Linked DNA regions of Homo sapiens: region 1 is linked to region 2. The links are contacts of gene promoters, found by promoter capture Hi-C in blood cells and fetal thymus (Javierre and others, 2016). All regions are on one chromosome and are shown on one strand. Each heading gives the region's core, a stretch centred on a gene start or on the middle of the fragment in contact. The rest is flanking DNA. Distances are from core to core; before and after follow the strand shown. Region 1 overlaps RAI14 (retinoic acid induced 14). Region 2 holds the start of RAI14 (retinoic acid induced 14).

What was found. Contacts are between HindIII fragments. The CHiCAGO score rates a contact against its expected background, and 5 or more counts as called.
Region 1: a contact is called between a fragment that was not itself captured here and the fragment with the promoter of RAI14 in region 2, in 1 of 17 cell types (endothelial precursors). The highest score is 5.2, in endothelial precursors.

What each region holds. Positions count from the first base shown.
Region 1 is chr5:34,704,819-34,711,416 of GRCh38, reverse strand. The region is part of intron 2 of RAI14 (retinoic acid induced 14); the gene reads right to left. It overlaps LOC124900960 (a long non-coding RNA gene), which reads right to left and starts at 2,015. Exons shown (of 3, transcript XR_007058730.1): 1 at 1,191-2,015. The HindIII fragment of the contact is 423 bases long and covers 3,500-3,922 here.
Region 2 is chr5:34,654,043-34,660,420 of GRCh38, reverse strand. It overlaps RAI14 (retinoic acid induced 14), which reads right to left and starts at 4,093. Exons shown (of 18, transcript NM_015577.3): 1 at 3,946-4,093. It overlaps RAI14-DT (RAI14 divergent transcript), which reads left to right and starts at 4,248. Exons shown (of 3, transcript NR_183264.1): 1 at 4,248-4,428. RefSeq lists a silencer at 4,086-4,135. The HindIII fragment of the contact is 8,769 bases long and covers 1-5,067 here.

The DNA.
Region 1 (6,598 bases), core at 2,462-4,961, 51 kb before region 2:
GTAATCTCTGCCACCCTTAAGAATGTTCTTTATAATTTCCCCCACCCTTAAGAAGGTTCTCTGTAATTCTCCCCACCCTTGAGAATGTACTTTGTGAGATCCACCCCCTGCCGGCAAAACATTGCTCTTAACTTCACTGCCTATCCCAAAACCTATAAGAACTAATGAAAATCCACCACCCTTTGCTGAGTCTCTTTTCGGACTCAACCCGCCTGCACCCAGGTGAAATAAATAGCCATGTTGCTCACATAAAGCCTGTTTGGTTGTCTCTTCACACGGACGCGCATGAAACCTATGACCTAATCACTTCCCAAAGGCCTCATCTCTAAATACCAGTCACCTTGGGCATTAGGATTTCAACAGAGTAATTTTGAGGGGACACAAACATTCAGTCCATAGCACCCCCCATCACTTCTCTTTGACCAGGTCAAACCTAGTCAGTCAAACGTAGTTCAAAGAAGGCTAGGAAACTCTTTTAACTGAATTCACTGCATCCCAAATAAAAGATAAGGTTCTTTTACTAAGAAAGGAGAGGAAAGATATTGAATAGTCTACTAGAAATCTCTTCTGCTGGAAGAACACATGTCAGAAACTTTACAGTCTTGGCATGCTGAGCAGAAGTCACTTAGTCCAATGTTTCTGAAGCTCACTCATTGATAAGAATCACCTGCAAGAGCTGGGTGGTGGAGGGATGGTGCAGGGAGATCCTCACTGAAATGCAGCTCCCTGGTTCTACCCAGACCTACTGAACCAGAATCTTCAAGGAGAGGACCTGGGAATCCCTGTTCTTAACAAGCAACTTATGTGATTCTCATCATCAACAAAGTTTGGAAACACTAAAATCTAATCTTCCACCCACTTAGTGGCCCCTCAGCAAATGCCTGAGGCTAAGGGCCCTAGAGTCAGTCCAATCCAGCCTTGAGAAGCAAGAGGCATGCAAGTTCTTTCACATACTGAGGTAATATCTGACAGAGAGCCTATGCCATGGGAAGGGAACAAGCCAGTCTCACTACAAGAAATTACTGTTCTTATAAAGGGGAACATTTAGACACCAAGACGGATACATACAGAGGGAGAAGATGACCATGTAAGGACAGAGGACTAGAATAATGCACCTACAAGCCAAGGAATTCCAACAACTGCCAGCAAAACCAGAAGCTAGGAATAAGCAAGGAAGGACTCTTCCTTACAGAGACTTCAGAGGCAGGATGGCCCTGCTACACAGACTTCTCGCCTCCAGACCCAAGAAGGTATACTTCAGTTGTTCTAAGCCGCCCATCTGTGGCACTTTATTCCAGCAGCCCTAACAAATGAATACAATTGGTTAGTGAGGAAAGCGGAGGATGTATTTCCTTACCAAGGTCAAATTCCATGTTCATGGACTAATACCTAAACTATTTCCACGCACAACTCAGTCTGAATGCAGAACAAAGGAACTGCAAAAGGCCACTTGGAAACAATCTGGCCTTAAATCACATTTGCTTTTCTTCGGGATGGTTTGAAAACAAGTTTTTCCACACATTATCTCTGGGGGAATGAGGAGTGGTTAATTCATTCTTATGCCTCTGAGATCAAAACAAAATATCTACACGGCTTCCCTCCTAGATGATTGCTTATTATCCTAGATCAGTGCTTCTAAACATTTTCTGCTCAGGAAAATCTTCCAAAGAGCCTAAGTAATACCCAACCCAGCTCCTCTCCAGAAAATTGTATTCAGTTGTATGGGAGTTGGGTGAAGAACAGGAATAACTTTTGTTTTTAAGCTCCCCAGGTAATGTTAATGTGCAGTGGGGTTAAGAACTGTCTGAGATTATATGAATGAAGATTTGTTTTTTTCCAAATGTCAACAGAGAGGGGCAGACCCTCCAAAATTCCAATACTAGGAAAACCCATCTTGTGCAGAATTGACACAAAGTAGCTACAGACTTTTGAAAGTTTACTTTAAAAACTGATTTTCTTTTTTTTAATTGGAGACCAGTCTTGCTCTGTGGCCCAGGCTGGAGTGCAGTGGCATGATCTCAGCTCACTGCAACCTCCGTCGTCCAGGTTCAAGCGATTCTCCTGCCTCAGCCTCCCAAGTAGCTGGGACTATAGGCACATGCCACCATGCCCAGCTAATTTTTTTATTTTTAGTAGAGACGGGGTTTCGCCAAGTTGGCCAGACTGGTCTCAAACTCCTGGCCTCAGGTGATCTGCCCACCTTGGCCTCCCAAATTGCTGGGATTACAGGCAAGCCTGGCATTAGAAACTGAATTTCTGAATGAATTTTTTTTTTTTTTTTTTTTTTGAGATAGGGTCTCACTTTGTTGCCTAGGCTGGAGAGCAGAAGCATGATCATAGCTTACTGTAACCTCAAATTCCTGGGCTCAAGCATTCCTCCCGCCTAGCTAGCACAATAGGCATGTACCACCATGCCCAGTTATCTTCTAAAGTTTTTATAGAGATAGGGTCTTGCTATGTTGCCCAGACTGGTTTCAAACTCCTGGCCTCAAACGATCCTCCCACTTTAGCCTCCCAAAGATATGGGATTACAGGCATCAGCCACCATGGCTGCCCAGTTCTATCATTATTAGATTGGCAATGTTTTAACTAATGGCTCCAGGCAGGCTCTCAGGCAACTTATTTTATCTGTGGCATAATGGTCTTTTATAATCAATTACCCCCATGGTTTTAAATTTTATCACGGTTTTTTAACTACTGACATTTTATTTTCACTGTTATAACTTGGCAAAACATCCAAATATATAAATGCAAAGATACCCACAACCTATGGAATATGTTTTAAATAAATTTAAGCTAAAAATTTTTTTTTGTTGTTTTCACAAAAGACGCAGGCTAATTAGTTGACAATTTTTTAACTGCTGACATGATTATACTGTCAGAACTCTGCAGACTTCTTAAAAATATGTTCCTTTGGCCAGGTGCGGTGGCTCACGCCTGTAATCCCAGCACTTTGGGAGGCTGGGGCGGGCGGATCACCTGAGATCGGGAGTTTGAGACCAGCCTGACCAACGTGGAGAAACCCTGTCTCTACTAAAAATAGAAAATTAGCCGGGCGAGGTGGCGCATGCCTGTAATCCCAGCTACTCGGGAGGCTACGGCAGGAGAATCGCTTGAACGCGGGAGGCAGAGGTTGCAGTGAGCCGAGATCGCGCCATTGCACCCCAGCCTGGGCAACAAGAGTGAAACTCGGTCTCAAAAAAAAAAAACAAAAACCCAAAGTTCCCTTATACTTAGGTTTTATTATTTCAAATGTGGTTCTAAAGAGTATATTAAATTATATCTTTATATTTAGATAACACTCAGGAGCAGCTTAGCTTTCATACGATCTAGTTTCTTGACATGATAACCTTTCCTTACTCCACTTTAGAAACAAAGCAAACTCATAAATACAGTAGACACATAAAGACATAGACTTTCACTTCCTTCCTTTCTTTCTCTTTTCCCGCCCCTGTATCAACATTCCCTCTCTTTCTTCTTCTGCCATTTTTTCAAAGCTTTGATTTTCCCCTTGGAGAGAGGGTCAGAGGCTTGAGGATTTCCTGTCTACAGCTCTGCCATGTGCTTAAGGAAATGTGAAAAAATAACTGTCTATTTCAAGGAAAGGTTATTATAATCATAACTTACAGTAGGACCAGATTCCCTGTTGTTTGTTCTCAATTAGTAGAGATTACAAGAAATGTCATAGAAGAGTAGAAGATGATAAATTTTGACGAGGTACTGGGGAGACTTGAATACACTTCAATTAAGATGTGTGGTTTTTTTCCCCCAGATGCCTGGGGGACTTTGCACAACTCCAGTAAAAATAAATGAACTGCTTTTGTACTCTCTTACAGAAGCAATTATCAGTGGACACAAAGATGGATGAGGAGCAGAGGGACTTGGAAAGAGACCTGAACAGGAAATACAGAATTTTAAAGCTTAATGAGACTTTTGAGAGCATTTTTTTTGAGACGGAGTCTCGCTCTGTCGCCAGGCTGGAGTGCAGTAGCGTGATCTTGGCTCACTGCAACCTCCCGCCTCCCAGGTTCAAGAGATTCTCCTGCCTCAGCCTCCCAAATAGCTGGGACTACAGGCACCTGACACCACGTCGGGCTAATTTCTGTATTTTTAGTAGAGATGTGGTTTTACCATGTTGGCCAGGCTAGTCTCGAACTCCTGACCTCAGGTGATCTGCCTGCCTTGGTATCCCAAAGTGCTGGGATTACAGGCGTGAGCCACCGTGCCCAGCCAAGAGCATCTTATTTCACCCATGTGGAAACCCAGGGAGGCTAACTGACTTGCAGGAGTCACACACAAGTAATTGGCAGAACCAAGATCAGTAAATATAGCCTGCGGTTCTGTCCACAACATCATGTGCCAAGTTTTGATGCTATCTGAAAGTAACAGTAAAATGTTGAGCTGACGTCTTTGCCTCTCTGGCTTCATGTTTTACATATTTATCATCTCTCAATATGCTGCAATTTGATGCGGGGTAGGGCAAGAGCTGCAAGTTTTGATGGTCTTGACTCAGTTATTGCCTCTTGTTAAGGAAGATGAAAAACTTTTCTGGGGTAGAAAAGGGCTATTTTTCATGAAATGCCATCCATCATACAAAGTTCAAGGTCAAGGAGTCACATGAGGCATATACAAAAAGGGCACAAGTATTATTTCTGTGCCCTTAAAATGGTCCAGATAACTTGGTGTTTCAAGCAGAGAAAACCCCTCCTGCAGTAATAGGAGGCAGCAACAAAGAATAAACTATACAGATCAGGAATAAAAAGCCTGCAATCTCCTGTGATACAGTATAATCACACAATAGGCCCAACATCAATGTAATAAAGTTCCGAAATAAAACATTTCTTCCATTAAGTCCCAAACTCCGGGTTCGAGTATCATTTTCAAATGTTAACATGAATGTCTAAGTATCAGCCTAAAATTCATTAGTCAGCCTGAGATATTTTGAGCAAGAACCCTCAAAATATGGGAAAAACCATATAAAAGCAGAAAATAATCCTTAAGTGACATTCTATTTATATTTACCTTTTAAGAAATCTTCATTGTCCTCAGTTTAATGAGTAAGTTTTAAAAATAAAATGATACACATATTCCATGAGTCACACAAAGCCAAGGCTGCTAAAGTGGGTGATTAAACATTTTAAGGAAAACTGAATTATATGAAGGTTAAGTCCCTTTTAAAAAGTATATTAGGAGGCATTACGAAAATAAGAAAGTGGTTATAAATCTGAGTTCCAAGAATGGTAACTCCCTTCTATGGACAGAGAATAACACTAGGGCAGAACAATTACATTCCTATGCCAGGAAAACCTTCACAGAAAAAAAACACAGAAAGTCCAAAATCACAGCATTTAAAAATGCATTTCATTGAGATGCTCCATACGGAAAATCAGTGATGTTAAATCAGCAGCTTCAGAGGACAGAGAGCAAATACAGGGGATGTTTGCATAAACCTAAAGAAAAACAGAAAGTGGGCTGGGCGTGGTGGCGCATGCCTGTAATCCCAGCACTTTGGGAGGCCAAGGTGGGCAGATCATCTGAGGTCAGGAGTTCGAGACCAGCCTGACCAACATGGAGAAACCCCATCTCTACTAAAAATACAAAATTAGTCGGATGTGGTGGTGCATGTCTGTAATCCCAGCTACTCAGGAGGCTGAGGCAGGAGAATCATTTGAACCCAGGAGGCGGAGGTTGCAGTGAGCTGAGATCGCACCATTGCACTCCAGCCTGGGCAACAAGAGTGAAACTCTGTCACAAAAAAAATAAAAAGAAAAAAGGAAACTGGTTACACATCTGTCCACAAAGGCAAATGCAGGGGGGCTGGTGACTCCTGGGTATAAAGGCTCACATCTGTTTATGTTAATTAAGAGAGCAGTATGTAACCAGTATCATTCCACTTCAGTTTTCTTTTAGGATCTAACATAGTGCTATCCAAGAGATATATAATATAATGCCACATGTTATATTTCCTGATAGCCTCATTTTATAAAGTACAAATAAGCTGGTGAAATTAATTTTAATAATATATTTTTAAAATAACAATATAGGCAAAATATGATGATTTCAGCATGAAATCACCATGAAAACTCTTATTGGGATATTTTACTTTTTTTCATACTAGGTTTTAAAAATCCTGTAAACTTACTGTACATCTCAATTCCCATGCTACATTTTTATTGCAAATACTTGACATCTATTTAGATTTCAGGAGATTTAGAGTTGAAAAAACAAATTCACATACCCAAGTTGTTCCAAACTTAAGCATTTTCCAATATTTGCATTGAGTATCTGTTTTTAAATTTAAATTTATGAAAATAAATAAAATTAGCCAGGCATGGTGGCATGTGTCCATAGTCCGAAGCTACTCAGGAGGTGAGGTGGGAGCATTGCTTGGGCCCAGGAGTTCGAGTCCAGCCTGGGCAACAAAGGGAGACCCTGTCTCTAAAAGAAAGAAATAAAGAAAAATTCAGTTCCTTAGTAGCTCTAGCCATATTTTACATGCTAGACAGACACATGTAGCTAGTGACTAGAAGAGTGGATAGCACAAAGCTAACATCTTTGTCCCATCCTCACAGAAAGAGTATTTCTTTTTCCAACTTCC
Region 2 (6,378 bases), core at 2,844-5,343:
CTTGTTGCCCAGGCTGGAGTACAATGGCCGGTGGGATCTCGGCTCACTGCAACCTCCACCTCCCAGGTTCAAGCGATTCATCTGCCTTAGCCTCCCGAGTAGCTGGGATTACAGGCATGCGCCACCACGCCTGGGTAATTTTGTATTTTTAGTAGAGACGGGGTTTCTCCATGTTGGTCAGGCTGGTCTCGAACTCCTGACCTCAGGTGATCCACCTGCCTCGGCCTCCCAAAGTGCTGGGAGCTGAGACAGGGTCTCACTCTGTCGCCCAGGCTGCAATGCAGTGGTGTAATCTAGGCTCACTGCAGCCTTGACATCCAGGACTCAAGCAATCCTCCCACCTCAGCCTCCTGAGTAGCTAGGACCACAGGCACACCACCACACCCAGCTAATTTTTGTATTTTTTGTAGAGATGAGGTTTTACCATGTTTCCCAGGCTAGTTTTGAACTCCTGAGTTCAAGCAATCCTCCTGCCTTGGCCTCCCAAAGTGCTGGGATTACAGGCATGCAACACTACACCAGTCCCACTTTTCTTAATTAAAACAAAGAAAGAAAAAAGAAAAAAATAATCCAGCCAACTATGTAATCTTCTTAGAATTTAATCAGTTTCACTTTTTTAGTCAACAGATAGCCAAGACCATACAAGCACCCTAAATATTTGTTGAAGAATGAATAATAAATGCAATATTACCTAAACTTCATTACCCAGCAACTAACTAAATAAGTGTGTAACAGAAAAATGTGTGCACAAGAAAACATCTCAGGATGTTTATTGTACAAACTGTTATAGTAAAAAGAAATAAAAATAAAAATGAAAATGGAAATAGAGTGTCACTCAGCAGAAAAAGTGTAACAGTGAAAAACTAGGCCAGGCACAGTGGCTCATGCACTGTGGAAGGCTGAGGTAGAAGGCTCACTTGAGGCTGAGAGTTCAAGGCCAGCCTGAGCAACATAGTAAGACCCTGTCTCTACAAAAATGAAAAAAATTAGCCAGGCATGGTGGCATGTGCCTGTGGTCCCAGCCACTTTGGAGGATGAGGCAGGAGGACTGCTTGAGCCCAGGAGATTGAGGCTGTAGTGAGCAGTGATCACGATACTGCACTCCAGCCTGGGTGACAGAGCGAGACCGCAGCTCAAACAAAAAACAGTGAAAAACCAGAAACCCTAACTTACTCTTGGCAAGGGAGTAAATATACTATACTTTTTTCATACACTGGGATTCTCTGTAACAGCTAAAGTGAATAAAGATCTATTAACACATGTATCTCAAAAACATAGTAAGTTAAAAATGCAAGCTATACATAGGTAGAATTATGCCATTTATGTAAAATGTTAAACACAAACTCACATGTATTTTTTTGTGGATACAGTGTAGTTCCAAACATGCTTGAGAACTGTGTGCGCTAACTTCACATTAGAGGTTACCTGAGGATGGAGGCAAAGGAGTAGGAATAGATCAAATATTTAAGTTATAGTTTATTTTTCCGGGGGGGGAGAGGTATGGATCAAATATGAAAATATTAGCAACTATTAAACCTAGGAAGTAGAAGACAAAATGGCTTACTATACTCTGTTTTTATGTATGTTAGAAATATTTCATACTTATTTATTTATTTATTTATTTGAGACAGAGTCTTGCTCTGTCGCCAGGTTGGAGTGCAGTGGCGCAATCCCAGCTCACTGCAACCTCCACCTCCCGGGTTCAAGCGATTCTCCTGCCTCAGCCTCTCAAGTAGCTGGGATTACAAGTGCGTGCCACCACGCCCAGCTAATTTTTATTTTTTGTATTTTTAGTAGAGACGGGGTTTCACTGTGTTGGCCAGGATGGTCTCGATCTCCTGACCTCATGATCCGCCTGCCTCGGCCTCCCAAAGTGCTGGGATTACAGGCATAAGCACCATGCCTGGCCCTTATTTTTATTTTTAAAGGATGAAAAAAAAGGAAAGAAGGAAGGGAGGGAGGGGGTGGAGGAAGGAGAGGCAAAAGTTGTCCACTGCATTCTATTAATTCCAAGGCCCAGTTGTTCTTAACCTCCAAATCTGCTTCTTCACTTTTAAAGCCTAGGTGATAGTACGTGTACCTGCCTAGAACATGCTTTGAAAACTAGCAGACTGGAGAGAGAATTTCACTGTCAGGTTCACTACTGGTGGGCGGGACACTACATCATTCCCCTACGGAATCCCTAGGGGGCTCAGCATCCTTTCTGTCTCTTCAATTCAGATAACAGTAATAAGATTTTCCAGCAGGGTTATAATCACACCACCACCACCACCATCTCCAAAAAGCCATAAAACAATAAATTCATTACTGAAGCATCTCAGTGAATGGAGATGAAAACTGTGCAACAGCCCAGCACGGGATAGCTCTCCCAATCTCTGTTAGACAAGCACTGGCTAAAATATAAGAACTGGATCAATCTCCTCACATAAAATCAACTGTCTTACAAACCCAAGGGGGAAAAAAATCACACTTGTTAGGCATCATTAAGAAAAGATTATCAGATTATATACATCAGTAATAAAATTCCGAGCCACAGGGCGAACAGGGACCTGCAGGCTGGGGACAGAGCAGCCAAAATCCAGCCTCCCTGTGATTCCCGACCTCTTCTCCAACTCTGTGCAAAGCCCGAGGAGGTGAGACTCTCTTCGCTAAGGCGAGCTTCGGCTATGTCCTAGTGATGGACAGTTCCTCTCTGCCAGGCCCCTGCAGCCTTGAGACCACATTCCCCAGAGATCCGGCAACGTTTCCCCATCCCAGGCAGCTGGGCATTCTCCTCTCCCGGAAGGAAGACGGAATCCCACCCCGATCATGCGTGAGCTGCGGCGAAGAGAAGCCGCTGGTCCCGAGGCGAGGGGCCTCGAGTCCGCAGATTCCCCTCAACATTTCTGGGAGTAAAGTTGGGCTTAGCTGGGCTCCTGGCAAATAAAGAGGAGCCTGGAAAGACAGCCATGCTCAGGCCCCCGTGAGGCCACTTCGGACCCCTCCACGCTGTGCTGGGCTGCATCTGCCTTAATTCCCCGTCTGTTGCTTCTCCAGGCTCTGAGCCCCCTCCACAAAAGGGGGATGCGAAACTCAAAGGAGTTAGGATGTCAACCCTGCAAACCGCAGAAACTAAACCGACACCAACCTGCCCAAGAAGGCAGCGAAGGTGGTTGAGGACGACACCCCACCCCCCACCCCCCACCAGGCAGGGGTCGCGGGAGATGGCGGGCGCCTTTCTGGTGGCTCCACGTCCTCCTTACTCCCGAAGTCCCGGCGGCCCCGAGTCTGCCCCAACTCCAGCATCCGTTCTCCCCGAGCTGCGGCGGGGAAAACAAGGTAGGGGGCAGGGGCAGGCCCAGAGGGGTCTCGCCCCCGCCCTTGGGCCGGCCGAGGGGCTCCCTGGAGTCAGAGGAGGAACAATAGCGGACCCCGCGTCCTGGGAGCCACCCGGAGTCTCCCGCTCGCACCTCCCTCCCCACCTCCTCCAAGTTCAGCCGGGAGGCGGATTGGGCTCAGCAGCACCGACGCGGGGGCAGCGAGGCGCCGCGCGGGGCGAAACAGGTGGGACCCGGCGCAGACTCCAGGGTGCATCTCCGGGTCTGCTCATTCATTCCCACCCGCGCTCCCTCCGCCGCGGCCCCTGCCCCGCGCCCCGCCCCAGCCGGCCTGCGAGTCGCGGAGGACCCGGGAAGAACCCTTCTCCTAACTTGGCCGGGTCTTCCCGCTCTACCCTCATCTCCACCTTCCTCTCCTTCCTCTTGTCCCCAGATCTGCTCTCCGCAGACAGTGGGCTGCCGGCGGTGGACCAGGGAGAGGTGGCGGGACCCCGGCTGCAGCCCGCTCAGCCGCTCCGCCCGGGCGCCGTCCCCAGCGCCTCCCGCGCCCGAGCTCCAGACACAAAGGCGGGGACACGAGCCCGGGACCCCGCGCCGGGAGCCTCCCAACTCCGTGCCGCGCACTCACCCCATCGAGGCGGCGGCGGCGCTCCCCGGACCCAGCTGGCTGCTCCACCCCGCCCGCCGCTTCCCCAGGAAAACGCGGCCGCCGGGCTCGCTTCCTGCTCGGCTTCCTGCGCCGCAGTCCCTCCTCCTCCCCCGCTGCGGGGGTCAGTGGGCGCCGAGCTCCCGGGCTAGGCCGGCGGGGCGGGGGCAGCGGCAGCACCACCACGTGGCCGCCGGGCGCCGGCCCCCGCCGACCTGGATCCAGTGGGAGCGGGAAGGGAGGCGCTAACCATTCCCCTCCCATTCCACCCCTCGCGGCCCCAAATTCCGCGAGTCAGGTGACCCGGCCCCGGGCTCTGGCCGGGACCTGCGGGGGGTGCTCTCCGCCCTCCAGCCCCCGGCGCATCTCCCCGGCCCGCGCGTCCCGGCTGTTCGTGGCTTGCTTTTAGTCTCCAGGGATCGTGGGACCCTTCTCCGCGGATCTGTTTCATCCTCTTAACCTGAAGTTAGTGGAAGCCCCCCACGCTCTGACCCCTGGGTTTAGGACGGATGAGATCCCAGATACTGTTTATTTCTGATTAACTTCCAAAGTCGTTTGTGGTAGTGGCGAGTGTTTCAAAGTCACGGATCCAAGCCCCTTCTGACCAGAATCTAAAAGGTTGTTTTCCAAAATCATTGAACAGAAAGTAAAGTAGAATGTGCTCACGTTCTCCGGACTGAACCAATTGGTTGAAGTGACTGTTTTCTAGCACTCATTGGGTGGCAAGGCAAGACTACCACCGTTCAGTGTTGTTCTGCTCAGGAGTTAGAAAGGAGAAACCTACAGCCTGAACTGACAGGCGAGATTGCGCATGGGAACGCCTTCAAAATAGTGTGTGAGAAGCCACGGGGTACAGGCTCACTGCCCCAGGTCCCCGACAGCTTCTCTCCCTATCCCAGCCCACTAAGGCCCGACCTTTCAATTACGATGGACTCCACCATTAATTCCAAGGATTTCAAAGCTCTCTATCTACCCACTCATCTAATTTGGGCTGGCTTTTCCATGCATTCTAGTCATGCTAACCAGCTGTGACTTCAGTTCTGTTCACCTAAGCTCCTCCCTTCTCCTCGTTAGCTCTGCCTCCTTTGCTCAGGGAAGAAAGCTTTCTAGAATAAATAACGTATTGAGTTCTTTCTGGGATCTACTGTAAGTCAATTGAACTTAAGAGGGAAAAAAGGTCGATTCCAACAAAATTGAAATTCACCCTAACAGCTCAGTTTATAACGTGTCAGCTACATACTAATATTTATATGGCAGATATTACCTGTTCCCTCCCCCCGCCCCATCCCCCTTTCCTTCCTCCCTCTCCCTACTAGGGAAGAGCCTATCTCCCCTTTAACAGTTGAACTTGACAAACAAGCATCAAAAGCCTTGTAACTAGGTGCAGGGTCTTCACTTCCTACAGCAAAAGTTCCTTAGCCAAGTGAGGAACAGCTAAAGCAAGATGTACACTCCTCTTCCTGTCCTTTATCCCTCTCAAACAAAGTCACACTGTAAAAGAAACATGAACTGACCAACATTCTTTTGGTTTAATGCTGGCAATTTCTACAATAGTGTTTCATCGTGATTCTTGTTAATGACATATTGTAGGGTATTTAAGGGGAACATTACTGCCTGTGAGTTTTCTGCTCTATTTTTGCAGGTCAGTCTGGTTCAAGTAGGGGCAGCTGGGAGGATGGGATTTGGAGCATGGTACAGGTAGATGATGCTGTCTTGGAAATTTGACATGTGTGTATTCTGTAGGAACAGTTGACATTTTGAAGGAGTTAAAATATTAGACAACATTAAACAATGATTGTCTAAGGCAGGCACATCTGACTTTGATTCACAGAGGTCCTGTCCCTCTTCTTTTTTCTCTGTCCCAGCCACCTCCAAAGAGCCTACCAGCCTATCACCTCTTAGATTCCCATAGGTGGTTTGTATATGATTCTCCTTAGTTTACACTCCCACCCTCTAAAGTCAGCAAGTCTAACTCTGGATGAGGGATCGTTGTGAAAGTATTCTTATTTTTTTGGGCTGTGCCAAGATCCTTTTCCAGATCCCCACTTTTGAAACTCAAAGCAACTTTGTAGTCTGTAGACTGAGCATGGCAGCTAAGTTCTGCCAACTGCAGGGGGATTAGTGGGGAAGTAAGAGGTTCAATAGCATCTTCTTATTGGTTGTGTTGCCCAGGCGTTTTAGAAATGCTAATTGGGTTCATTGGATACATTGAATACCACCCTTTGATGAGAACTAGGCCCAGGTGAAAGGGGTTGAGTTAAAGAAGCAAAAATAAAATGACCAGCTAACCTGTGTAAAGTAGTAAAACCTTTTGGGAGGAGCAGTATGTTGCATTCCTTTATCCAAATATCAAGGTAACAGCAGTGTAATATGTAGTGCCATGAGCACCAAGAGCAAGGAGACTGGGTTTCCTGA